Linked DNA regions of Homo sapiens: region 2 is linked to region 1. The links are contacts of gene promoters, found by promoter capture Hi-C in human tissues and cell types (Jung and others, 2019). All regions are on one chromosome and are shown on one strand. The core of a region is centred on a gene start or on the middle of the fragment in contact, and the rest is flanking DNA. Distances in the headings are between cores, read along the strand shown.

What was found. The method cuts DNA at HindIII sites, captures the fragments that hold promoters and counts their contacts. A contact is called where the count stands out against the background at its distance.
Region 2: a fragment that was not itself captured here is called in contact with the fragment with the promoter of ST6GALNAC3 in region 1 in 2 of the 25 tissues and cell types used here (heart left ventricle and small bowel).

The regions. Positions count from the first base shown.
Region 1 is chr1:76,071,928-76,078,633 of GRCh38, forward strand. ST6GALNAC3 (ST6 N-acetylgalactosaminide alpha-2,6-sialyltransferase 3) reads left to right here and starts at 2,819. Exons shown (of 5, transcript NM_152996.4): 1 at 2,819-2,957. The coding sequence starts at 2,940. RefSeq lists a silencer at 2,620-2,819. The HindIII fragment of the contact is 7,284 bases long and covers 1,304-6,706 here.
Region 2 is chr1:75,986,189-75,992,894 of GRCh38, forward strand. The region is part of intron 2 of LOC105378806 (a long non-coding RNA gene); the gene reads right to left. Among named protein-coding and RNA genes, the nearest start is that of ASB17, 57 kb to the left of the region's middle. The HindIII fragment of the contact is 6,639 bases long and covers 1-6,485 here.

The DNA of each region.
Region 1 (6,706 bases), core at 1,569-4,068:
GTGACAAATGACAGAAATTGGGCTTCTAACATACTGGACAGCTGAATGTAGCAGTTAAGATGGCAAACCCACAAGTCCCTAGATTCAAACCCCTGTTCCCCTAGTTACCAGCTGGGGATGATAACATCCATGTGGATGTTGTGAGGATCAAATGAGATACTTTCTTTAATTGCAGGATGCTCCATTTTGTTATTATTATTTTTGGAAATAGAAACTCTTGGCTTTAAGTCACATAATGTTAGAGCTGGAAAATTATGCTACACCTATGGATTTGACTAAGCTGTTCCTGTAGTTTGGCCAGTTTTAAAACAAAAAAATCCTGGCAACACACTCCTATCCTCCCAGCCCCAACAAATCTGGCTATCTCCATTCCCTGGTAGGTTCAAAACCTGTTTTTATTTCCATCCAAAAGCTTCCCCCCCACCCCCAGACATCGAGTGGTCCATCTAAAACAGTGATTGTTAATACTGTTTTGTAAATCTTCCAGTCCAGATTTATTCTAGAACTTGAGTTTGTTTTTAGATTGTTATAAATGTGCCTTTATTTCTAGCTGTTTGACATAACTTTTGGATGTTAATAAAAAAAATAACACCTTGGGAAGTATGGACATGGGTGGATAGAAATGTAATTGAGAAAGCCATATCCAAGTAGATTGAGGGAATTAGTAAAGGCCTCATCACGGCATACCCAAGTCATAACATGTTAAAAGTTTGCTCCGTTGGTGTTCATCCTCCTGAGACACCCAAGGCTGATGGCAATTATCCTATTCATCTTCTCCCACAAGTCTGTCTTTAGCGGAAGATTTTTTTCTTTACATAAAGAGCTATCATATAAAAAGTGCTCATAGTGCCAGAAATTGAGGTAAATGCAATTTGCAAACATTATTATCTCATTTAATTCTCTTGAGGATAGATAATATTAGATAAGGTAAGGATTAAAGAGAGGTTAAGAAACTTGATCAAGGACACCCAGCAGGGAAGTACTTAGCAGGGCTGTTCACTAGGGCCTGCTGTTTCTCTTTCCAGATGTACAGACTTTCTAGAGAGAACGATGTGCTCTGCCCACCCTCACCCCTTTGCTCTGCTGTTCTGCCAGGGACATGCAGGAGACGGAGGCCTTCCTCTTAACCGCAAGAGGCCTTCCTTTTTTACTAATATTCCTCAGCACAGACCCTTTACGGGTGTCGGGCTGGGGGACGGTCAGGTGTTTCTCTTTCTCCTTCCTGAGATCTTTGCTTCCAATTTGGCTAAGGCCCTTTCCATGTTATAGTATCATGTATCTCTTATTCTTGTCTTTCTCACTTAACTGTGAGCCCACCTTGATGTTAGATATTCTGAAAGTCATTCTCCTATCCCTGAAAGGTCTTCAATAAAGATTTTTCCTCCACTTAGTGGAAGGTGAATAAAGTTTATTCTTCCATTTAGTAGTGGCTCAATAAAAAAGTTTGTGGAATCAATCAAGGGATGAGTAAATGAATGAAATACTGAATTTTCCTGGCCTATGAAGGACCATGAGCTAAAGCAGCGGTTTAAAGTATATAGTCCCAAACAAAGAATTCTTACTAAAAACACACCGGATCTGTAAGGCAGAGGAGGGAGGGGCGGGAGGAAGAAGTCGAAGAGCAGGGTGTGGTATTCCAGGGAGACTGAAGACAGGAGCTTCCCATGGGACAGGCAGTTCATCCACAGGCTCAGCTTCTGCAACCTCCTTCCTGTGGTTACTCCTGCTCTCTAAGAATTCTGCATGTTCTCATCAAGAAAATACCAAATTCCTTGAAAGCCTGGATTCTGCCTTGTGGTTTGTGAGCCAATCTCATGACACCACCAGCCCACAGTGCTTTTCCTGATTCCATGGAGGCAAACTAGACGGAGCTTCTAGCAAGTGAAACTTCTTTTGGGTAGATATTTGGGGGCCGCTTTTAAAATTTTTCTGACAGACCAAGTGGTAAAAATCTGTGTGTGTACACGGAATGCTCTCTCCCTTCTGCAATGCGTTTACTCTCCTTGTAGAAATAACTGCTTCTCTTAGCCGGCTCTTGCTTGGAGCAGGGAAGAGCAAAGTCCTATCATGTACACATACACAGTTTATAAACATATACTGTACAATCAACATGTACATATATAATACAATATACACATGTGTGCATCCTGTATCTGTATACTGTATATCATGCATATACAATTTCATAAACAAGCTTGTACCAGGAAAAGGCAATAATTTATATATTATACACACATACATGTATATGTAAAATATGTACACACACACAAAATATACCATACAGAGTGTAAGGTTCATGACGTCTTTCTTTCGTTGATATTTGTGCTCACTTATTAGCGGTAAATTATTAATTTTAGATAAGCCCATCACAGAGTGAAGGCTCAATCCTTGAACAGCCCAGGGAGAACTTCGTTGCTACTTTTGAAAAGCCCTTTGATGTGCCCAAAGTCTCCAGAAGGGCGATGCCAAACCCACTCAACTTTGACAAAGTGTGAAACGTCTGTAAAAAGGAGTTCTCTGATGTGTGAGAGGAGACGGAACCGAGAAGAAAAGGCCGTACTCTGCCCCCCGCGGGACCCAGGTCCCCGCCTGCTGCAGAGCGCACTCTGCGCACGTCGAGCCGCGAAAGGTTCACAGAAGAAAACAAGAGAAAGAAGTAGCAGGCACTGAGGAGCCGCCGGCGCCGGCGCCCAGGACGGCACGTGACCCGGGGGCGGGGCCGCGCGGGCCGCGGGCCAGTGGATGGGGACGGGGGCGGGGCCGCGGCTCGGGGGGCGGGGTCTGTGGCGGCGCAGCTTACACCGCGGTCCCCTTATTTGGATCTGCGGGAATGTGGGCTGGAGAGGTCCTGCCGTGGTACCAGCCTCCAGCCTGCCCCCAGGACTGCCCCTGACCCAGGCGCGCCCGCTGCTCGGTGGCAGGAGGGCCGGCGGAGCGCCATGGCCTGCATCCTGAAGGTAACGACTTGGATCTGTGGCTCGGACGCGTGGTTGGCCAGCCCCTTGCTGCTCAGAGGCACGGAGTCAGCCGCGGTCCCACCGCATCCTCATCTCAGTTGTCTTTTCCTGGCATTGATTTTCTTTTTGTTCCTTTGGCAAATGCATATGGAGGGAGATTCTGAAACATGCAGCTGGCACAGCTTCTTTTCCCACCATTCCTGCCTCCTGCTCGCGCCTGCATTGAAGGAGCTGCAGACTGTTGGCTCCAGGGGAGAGCAGGGCTGTGTGCCGAATAATGGGGATGGTAGGGAGAGGAGGGGTGTTCCCGCGGGTCCCGCGGCTCTGTGGAGCCTGAGGCCTTTCAGGGGCCACGGGGAGGGGTGGAGTGGCTAGGCGTGAGTTGCTGGTGGTGAGGGGCATAGCGCTTTAAATGGAGGGAAGAGTGAGCGGAGGTGGGCTCTACTGTGCATTTGATCATGTGAAGACAGAAACTTCTGAGTTTACAGGTAGTCCCTTAGGAATGAGTTTTCTATGAGATCTGCTAGCTCTGTTTGCCCTTAGCTCTACTTTGGAAAAGTTCACACGAGGATGTATATGTTAGTAGAGAACCTCTCACTCTCTTTATGCTCATAAATTTGAATAGACAAAATGATTTTATGCTCTGCCAGAGTGCGCTCAGCCATCCCTTCTTTGTTGAGTTTTCTTTCTCCAAGACCGGATTCTTAGCCTCACCTGAGCATCTTTCTGGGTTCACAGACTTGTGGCCTCAGGTGGGAGAACTTGGTGTGAGGGCCTCACTTAAAAAGAACTTTCCATCCCACTGGTAGAGGCCTCCCCTGCCCTCGTTTTTTTTTTTGCACTACCTTTCTACAAGAACATAACCTGGATGCATGAATCAAAAACATGAACAGCATGAAAGTTTCCTGGGCCTTGACTGGAGAATGCAGAGACCTAGTTGTCCAAGCCTGGGGGAACTGTGTGACGATGGAAAATACCAGGAAACAATTCGTTGTTGTTGTGTTATTGTGAAGTAGCATTTATTTCTCTATAAGATGATATTAAGTCATCTACTGTGTTCTGGTTACCTGAATCGTCTTCTAACGTGCCTGGTGTCAATGATGAAAATAAGAGACTAACCTCGTAGAAGTTGTTTCCCCTTCTTTGCGTAAAGGAGATCAGAAGTTTCCTGTGAGCTTTCTGAACTTCCTCTTTTTGTTTCAGAACATTTTCCAGGACATGAGGAAATAATACATCAGTATTACAGTATGGGGTATTTGACCGGGAGGCTCTTAGCACAAGGACTGAAATATGAATATGAGTCATCTTTACTATTCATTGTGTTATTTGCTGAAAGGGACATTGAGGAGCATGATATTTATTGCTGGCCATCTTTTTCTGTTTTGGTTTCTCCCCTGCCTTGTCCTATACATGTGGTAAACATCTTTAATGCACATCCCAAACTACACATGAATCTGGTCCAATCTTTCTCTTCTAGCACTTCACACTGCTTTCAGACATTTGGGACATATCTGTCCACCTTATCTTCCCTCCACTGAAACTAATGTGGGCTTTAGACTCAGAAAGATATGTCTGGATGCTGGCTCTGCCCACTGCTACCTCTGTGATGTTGGACAAGTTACTTAAATGTCTCTGGGCCTTAGTTTCTTCAATATAAGATCAAAGTAGTGGCACCTGCTTCACAAGGTTGCTGTGGGAATGAAATAAGATAGGGTATGAAAAATACTTTGTGGCACAGGCATTTAATATGTGCCATTTTTTTCCTCTAACATATAATAATAAGTGCAGTTTGGTTGATCCTTACTATATCCTCAGTCTGTTTCTTATAACTATTATTTTTTATAAAATACAAAATGTTTTTTATTCTTTAATCTTTACATAAAACCCTGAAAGATAAGTATCATTGTTTTAAACCCCATTTTACAGATGAGAAAGTTGACGCTCCCTAGTTTAAGAGATTTGCCCAAGGCCACACAGGGTTAATGACAGAGTGATCCTGGATTTAGACCCAGATATGTCAACCTTCCATATACTTTACTGCTGTTCCAGTACTTTCCCAGGTGATGACTTTTAAGATGGCCTAATACCATTCAGTTCCAACCACCTTTGAGCACCTTTGAGCAATCCCCTTCTCTGGTCATGGTCTAGACAGTCTGGGCTGGATCTTTTTTCTTTGTTGTCTTTGAAAAGCTACACATGGAGCAGTGCAGAATACAGGTTTCAGTCCAGAGACCTGAGTTCAGTGCAAGCCTGGCTTCTTGCATATGATTTTAGACAGCTGCTGCAACCTGGAGCCTCAGTTTTCCCTTGTTGAAGTGTTCATAGAATTATAACCATTGCGTTACAGGGTTTTTATGAGGATAAAACTATGGACTTTTTTTTTTTTAATGAAATATTTTCTGCCATTTGCTGACCCTGGACTTGGTGTTGGCATATGTAGAAAAGGAAAGATTTTCCTCTGCCCTCTTAGTTTCTGTGCCTGGTCCTGATAGCTAAACTGACAAAAGGCATATTAACAGAGGAAAAACATACACATTTTATTTGATGTTAATGTTTTTATGTGTACCACAGAGGGCTTCCTATATAAGAAATAAAGACCCGAAGAAGGGGAGAGGCCTGAGAGTTTATAAAGCATTTTAATAGAGAAGGATAAATTGTGGAAATGTGACAAGACAAAGGAAAAAGGGGGTTTGGGCTGGGGCAGTCGATTGTGAGAAAGTGGGAAATGTATGGGGAAAACTAATGGAAAATAGGTGAGTGTTTTTACTAGAGATTTATTTTGGTGTTGACTCTCCATCTTTGATCATAAGAATGTTCTCCTCTTCCTGGCACAGGGAAGGGACATTTCTCATGGGAAATTTTATGCCTTGCTTTTAGGTAGAAATGGGGAGGTCAGAAAGCCCTTCCTGTATCTGCTTTTTCTCAATTGCCTTTAGCTCAAAATAATCAATATGCCAAAGTGATATATTTTGGGGTAGCCTGTTCTGATTCCTTTTACATCACAAGATGCATAAACCATTGACCCCATTCTCAAATGGCTTATGGTTTAGTAAGGATGATAGAAAAGTAAATGAGTGCTTAGGTTACAATGTGAAGAATAAAACTACATAGGTCCATGGAGGGCATAGTAGAAGCATGGAAGGAGAGAGCAATTACCCCTGTCATTGGGTAGTTCAGACAGGCTTCCCACTGATGATATTGGAGTTGTGTTTTGAAGACTAAATAGGATTTACTATGACGGAGCTCGTGTTTTAGAAAGATAAGTTTTGAGGCAGTGCCAACTTTGTTCTGTGGGCTAAGACTTTAATCTTCTCAATGAATTTTGCAGTAGATTTTACTATCCATTTTTACAAATGAGAAAACTGAGATAGAGAGATATTGATTAAAGTATCATTATTGCCTACACAATAGTGACCCTCACTAAGAAGAGACCCCCATGCTGTGGCAGCTAATTTTGGTCTTTTAGGGGATATGGAACTATCCCCTCAAGGTGCTGTGCATGCTGAGGGCCCATTCTGCCAATGCATAGCGCTAGTTCTCGTAACAGAACGATGATCACTTCATAATCATTTAATTTAGGAATTCAGACTTCACATTGCCTGGACTTTAAAGCCAGAAATATGTGACTTTTAATTATGGCTCCACTCCTTATTGATTATAGAGCCATAACAAGTTTCTTGATTTCACTACCTCAGTTTCCAAAATGGGAATCATGCATTCCTCAATGGGTTATTCTAAAGGTTAAATGA
Region 2 (6,706 bases), core at 1,916-4,415, 85 kb before region 1:
CTTTATCAATTTGTTCGAGACTTTTAATGTTATGATATTATGGGAACAACAGTTTTGTAGATATATGTGAGCAAAACATTTGTCTAATTTATCTTTTCATTTTTATGATATGTAATGAACTGAAAGTGCAAATTTTAATACCTTGAGTTTATTAATATTTTTCCTCATGGTTTTTGATTTTCGTGTTTTGTGTGAGAATCACAAAAACCTGTGGTCAATATATTCTAATTTTTAAAAGCTTGGGTTTTTACATTTAGGTTTTTAATCACCTGGGATTTATTTTGTTTGTAGTGTGCAGTAGGAGTATACTTTTATTTTTTCCACATTGAAAAAATTGATTATTTTAGTATGTTTTTTTTCATTTCACCAAGTTGTGATGGAATTAGCATGATTTTTTGAATACTTTATCCTTTACCCAATAACCTTTGATGCTGCATATGTCTTATATTAGGATTCTAGATATGCATGAGTCAGTTTCTGGGATCCCCATTGTTCCATTGGTCTTTTGTCTGTCTCTGGCAAATCTCACACTGTCTTAATACTGTCTTACTACAGATAGAAAATAATACTTATGTTAAATAGGACAAATAGGAAAATAATACTGATGTTAAGTAGGACAAATCCCTCAATCCTTATGATATGTAATGAACTGAAAGTGCAAATTGTAATACTTTGGGTTTATTAATAGTTTTCCTTCTTTAAAATTTTTATATTTGTTATTGGTCTTTTGTTCTCCCATATACATTTAAAAATCATATAGATAGATAGACAGATATATAGATAGATAGATATAGATATAGATATAATTTTTGAGATAGAGTCTTGCTCTGTCACCCAGGCTGGAGTGCAGTGGCGCGATCTCTGCTCACTGCAAACTCCGCCTCCTGGGTTCACGCCATTCTCCTGCCTCAGCCTCCCGAGTAGCTGGGACTACAGGCACCTGCCACCATGCCCGGCTGATTTTTTGTATTTTTAGTAGAGACGGGGTTTCACCGTGTTAGCCAGGATGGTCTTGATCTCCTGATCTCCCACCTCAGCCTCCCAAAGTGCTGGGATTACAGGCTTGAGCCTCCGCGCCTGGCCAAAAATCATAGTATTAAATCCATGAAAACTTTTGGAATCTCAGTTGAAATTACATTGGATTAATGAATGAATTTTAGAAAAATTGACATTTTTATGATATTGAGTCTTTTTATTCACAAACATTGTGTATCTTACCATTTGTTTGAGATATCTATAGTATCTTTTAATATTTACAAATTTTTCTCCATAATGGTCTTCTGCATCTTTGGTTTGAATTTATTTCTGGGTATCTTTTATATATATATATTTGTTACTATTATAACTGGTATCTTTTAAAAATACATTTTTCTGTTGATGTTTAGAAATTCAGTTAAGTTTTATATATTCATCTTCCATTCACCAAATTTTCAGGGGAAATTATTATAAATTATTAATGATTTATCAACTGTAAATAATTTATTAATTTTAAGTAATTTCTCTGTAGACCACATCATCTGATAATAAAGTATCTGATTTTAAAATTTTACTGTCCTTTTATTTCTCTTTGTCTTGCTGTATTGGTTTGAACATCCATTGCAATGTTGAATAGAAATATGATAGAGGGTGTTTTTTTTCTAGTTTCTGATTTTAAAAGAAAGACTTCTAATGTATAATGTATATCAGTGAGTATAAAGTTTGCCATAGATTTTGGTATACATTCTTTATTGTTTTAAGAAATCTTTCTTCTATTCCTAGTTTGCTAAGTTTTTTAAAATGTAACTAATGAATGTTGAATTCTATCAAATGTTTTCTTCTGCATCCATTGAGATGGTCATTTTTAAGAATCATTTTAATTGGTAAAATCATATGAATAGACTTTTTCTATCGTTAAGCCATTCTTGAACTCAGGGAATAAATCTTAATTGATTACAATAGCCTATTTATTTATCTTTTTATACACACGGGTGCATTATTAAATAAGATTTACTTATACAGTAGGTCCCCAAATAATGTTGTTTCATTCACTGTCATTTCTTTATAGCATTGATGAGAAGACAAAAAAGCTCTCTGGCTGGAGCCACTCTCTATGTGGAATTTGCATGTTCTCCCCATGCCTGCACTGATATTCTCCCACATCCCAAAGCTGTGCACAGATTTTGTAGGTGCCCTAAATGAATTGGTGTGTCTGAATGGTTCCAGTCTGAGTGAATGTGGAGGTGTGTGTGAGGGCACCTTGTGATGGAAGATTGTCTTGTCCAGGACTGGTTCCCAGAAGAAGATTCAGCCACCCATGACCCTGAACTGGAATAAGCAGGTTGGAAAATAAATGAATACACAAATATAATTTATTGTCAAATAAAAATTCATAAATGAGACCAAAATCATACAGATAAATGACAATAAGCAATGTGGTATAAAAACACTCAGCAAGCCTGCCCTATTTGCCACAGTTAGTTTTTAAATTGCATGGTAATAGGAGGTGCTCCTTACAATTTTTGCTTTGCAAACATTTATCCTGGACTTAACCCTTCACCATGACAGCTGCTAATACTCACTGATTCGCCAAATTTGGGTAAATAATGATCTTACTTGTTTTTATTACTCTTTCTTAATTGTACATGTAGCTCTCTTTTATTTCATTGTTTAATATTAGAAGTGTTTTGGGTCTTTATTTAGAAGTCTGGTAAGTTTTTGTTACCAGAAATATGCCATGGGAACTTAACTCTTGTTTATACCAATTAGCCTAAGATAATAATGAATGAAATAAGATAATAATGAAAACAATTATTGAAACAATTTATAATCGTTTTCATTATAAAACAAAAAACCAGTCCTGGACAAGACAACCTTCCATCACAAGGTGCCCTCACACACACCTCCACATTCACTCAGACTGGAACCATGATTTAAAGTCGCAGTTTCAAAGAACCTATTGACAACATTTAGTGAGGATTTGCTGTGTTATATTTAGGGTTGTCTCGATCTATCTCTCTTTCTTTTTCTTTTTTCCATATTCCAAATTGAGATTGGCAGTGAAGGCATTTTGTCTTCCACTCTCAGAGCTCTCACCAGATGAATCTCAGATCATTATCTCCAGCCCGACATTTCTCCTGAGCTCCGGTCCACACATTTTTACCTGAGTACTTCATTTTCACATGCTCAAAAAATTGTCTTCCACAAATGGCTGCTCTTTTCTTTGACTTTTTTAAACCTAAAAATTGGTTTTGAGCTCTCTTCTTTGCTATATTTCATATCTAATTAATTTCCATGGTCTGTTAGTTCTGCTATGTGACACATCTTTACTTTCTCTCTCTTCATTTCCATCCTTACTATCATAATCCAAGTCCTCATTACTATTTCCCTAGATTATTACAAGAACTATCTAACTAGTCTTTCTTGCTGCAGATTTGATTCTTAACCCCATTCTCCCATTCTAATCTACAGATTCTGCCAGGTAATCTCTAAAAAGAGTCTCTTTCATTATGTCAGTCTTAAGAGCATGCTGTGGCTCTTAGTTGTTTATGTGATACTTAAGTGCTTCCTGGTTGACATGTCTCTCCAATCATAGTTTCCATCAGTTTCCTTCAGAACCTATCTTCCAGCCACACAAGTGACTGTTCCCCAATATGTCTTAGCATTTTCAACATGTAAACTTCTCCTACATTGCCCTTACAATGTCTCTGACTCAAAATCTTAAGCTATCATAGCTCATAGCTAGTGTTTACTGAGCACGTATAATATTCTGGGTAGTGAGCCAACTGCCTAACGTACATCCTTTTCAGTGATCACCATGCTCCTGTGATGGTAAAGATTGCTGCATTGACTGAGTGCTTACATGGTCCAGGCACTGTTCTAAGTATTATTTCACTAAATTCTCACAACAACTCCATAGACAGGTGCTGTTATTATCCTTAGTTTCAAAGGAGGAAATGAGATATAGAGAGGTGAAGTAACTTTCACAGGACTATACAACCAGGAAGTTGCGGATCCAGGATTTGAATGCAAGTAGTCAGATTCTAGAACCTCCATGCTTTACCATTATGTAGGAGGAAATTGATGCTTGGAGAAGTAGAAAAACTAGTCCATCTGTGCAGGACTTCAGGGGCATTGGTTAATGACCCTATCTCTGATTCTCTTATTTCCTTTTCTAGACATTCACTTCTCCAGATCCTCCCATGTTTACTGTAAAGTCTAATTCCCATACTAAATCCTTTAATCCCCTAATACATGGCTCTGCTTTCCTAACTGAACCCTGACACACTCACAGTACTTTCCAGCTCACACATAACTTTCATAGACATGATCTCATTTATTCCAAAGCTTTCCTGGGATTCAAATTATTATTATTATTATTATTATTTATTTATTTATTTATGAGTCTCCCCGAGCAAACCCTAAGCCTCTCAAGAGTGAAGATGGTAAAAGAAGAGAGAAATGCTCTTCCTGTAGTGCCCTCAAGTCTTAAGTGAGAAAATAGATACAAAATATAGGAGTCACAGTTCATGCATTTGCCAAAGGAAAGTAATTCTGAACTTCCAGATGCTTTTGCATGAAGGTGGAGTTTTGCAAGTCTGGAGGACAGCTCCTGGAGATGAAAATAAATTCTACCACTTTACCGGAGAGTTTTATTTCCTCCATATGTTTGTACATTTTTCTTTCCTTATGTTTGTGATTCATCTGTGGCTCAAGAGATGTGTGGTGCCGGGGGATTGATGGCTGGGAGGGCTGCAGAAATGGTGTAGACAGTTACTGCAGTGATGTGATACAATTCTTGGCATTTGCACAAATATGGAGTGTTCAGACAGCCACAAAGTGGTGGAAGTAGCTCTGAGAACCCTGACTTTTACTGGGAAATCACCTGATTTTAGGTGAGGCCGGGAGATCACAGAAAAGAAGATTGATAGCAAACTTTTATAACAACTTTGGGATAGCCTTAGTTATGAGTAAACACTTTCACTACCAATCACAACATTGTTAGCTTTGATCAGGCCTTTGATGAGGCTTTCTGGTGCTTACTGTTCTCTGTCTTCTGCCTTCATGCTCCCTGGAATTTTACTGTCTCCCTCATAGGCTAGTTGAGATGTGGAAGAAATAATCTATGTAGAGCATTTGGCACATCCCCAGCTCCTCCCATGTTTGCTCGGCTCAGATACCTACTAAAGTGCCTGCTGCATAACAGACAATTTGCAGATTAATTGGAAAACCAGAAAAATACCCAGGATGCCTGACTTCTATTCTGGTACCCCTTTTACATTAACTTTTTTTTTTTTAATCAGTTATGTTACATATGCTTACTCATATATTGTCTTCATATCCCATGTGGCAAAGCAGATACATGTGTTGTAACACCTTATTGGTTAGAGACTGCCTTCCTGGTTCTACTCATTACATTCCAATCGTGGCATATCCTCTAAACTTTCTTTTCCCTTCATAAATCCTCTTTCTTTTTTTTCCCCCTCACAGTTTTCCTGAACAGGTTGACTATTAATTGTGTCTGCTTGATGTGGACACCAGGTGGCGCTGGACATCAGATTTGGAGAGGCAGTTGTCTAGGGAACCGGGCTCTGTGCCAGCGCAGGAGGCAGGCTGGCTCTCCTATTCCAGGGATGCTCATCCAGGAAGGAAAGGTTGCATGCTGGACACACTAACCTTGAAGAATTCTTCTGTCTCTCTCGTCATTTAGAAAGGAAGGAAATTGTTAATTTTTAAAAATAAGTCAAACTCGAATTTTACAAGAAAGTCCATCTCTAAACAAACCTCTACCACACCCAGCTACGAAGTAATCCAAAATTGATAGTTTCTTAATGCTCATGCAAAGCCTTCACTGAGAATGACTTTTCCATTTTCGTGGCAACAGAAAAAGGAAGCAGAACATAAGCTCTAATAAGAAAGGTAGTTACTCAGACAGGGGTAAAGGGACTCCAGGGGGAACTGAATTGAAGCCTGGAATGAGAAATATTACCATACTTCATAAATGCTAAGATGTCATTGATTTTAAGTCTCCCTGCTGCTTTATTTGCAGTAAGGAAGAAAATAGTCCTGCCAACTAAATTGAATTGTTGACTGTAAGGCCTAATCTGATTTCAGAGATATTTAAGTGGGAATAAAACTTTCTGTCTTTGTATTAAATATGGTAACTCTGAGGAGAGTATTCAGTCAGTTGCCTTCTAGTTGTCTTAGCCTCCCGCTCAACCTGTCTCTACCCTGGAGCACCTAAGAGATGGCTTGAAAACAACCGCGTTTACAGGACTTCCAGGAGAATGGTTCTTGTTCTTACTGAGAGTAAATACAGACTGCTTCCTTCCACTTCTCCTTAGAGAGTTAAATGAACCCCTGTAGTCAAAGATGACTCACTGCAGCCACTAGAACAGAGGTTGGCCAACTATGGTCCTTGGGCCAAATCTGCTCCAACACCTGTTTTTATACACTCCAGAAGTTTAGAATGGTTTTCACAGGTGAACATTTGCAATTAATTTGATAATAGGGACCATTAACTATGACTCCAATTAAGAGAAATGTTATGCCTTCTAAAAGTGTTTAATTCTTGTCATTAGTAGACTTGTATTATAAGAAATTATACTCAATTATTATTATTACATTTTGAATTTTGCCAATAATACATTTATGGAAATTTATTTTACCTCTTGTTACATATGTAGTTACATAATGTCATCAACTTTGCCACTTGGGCTGAAAAGCCTAA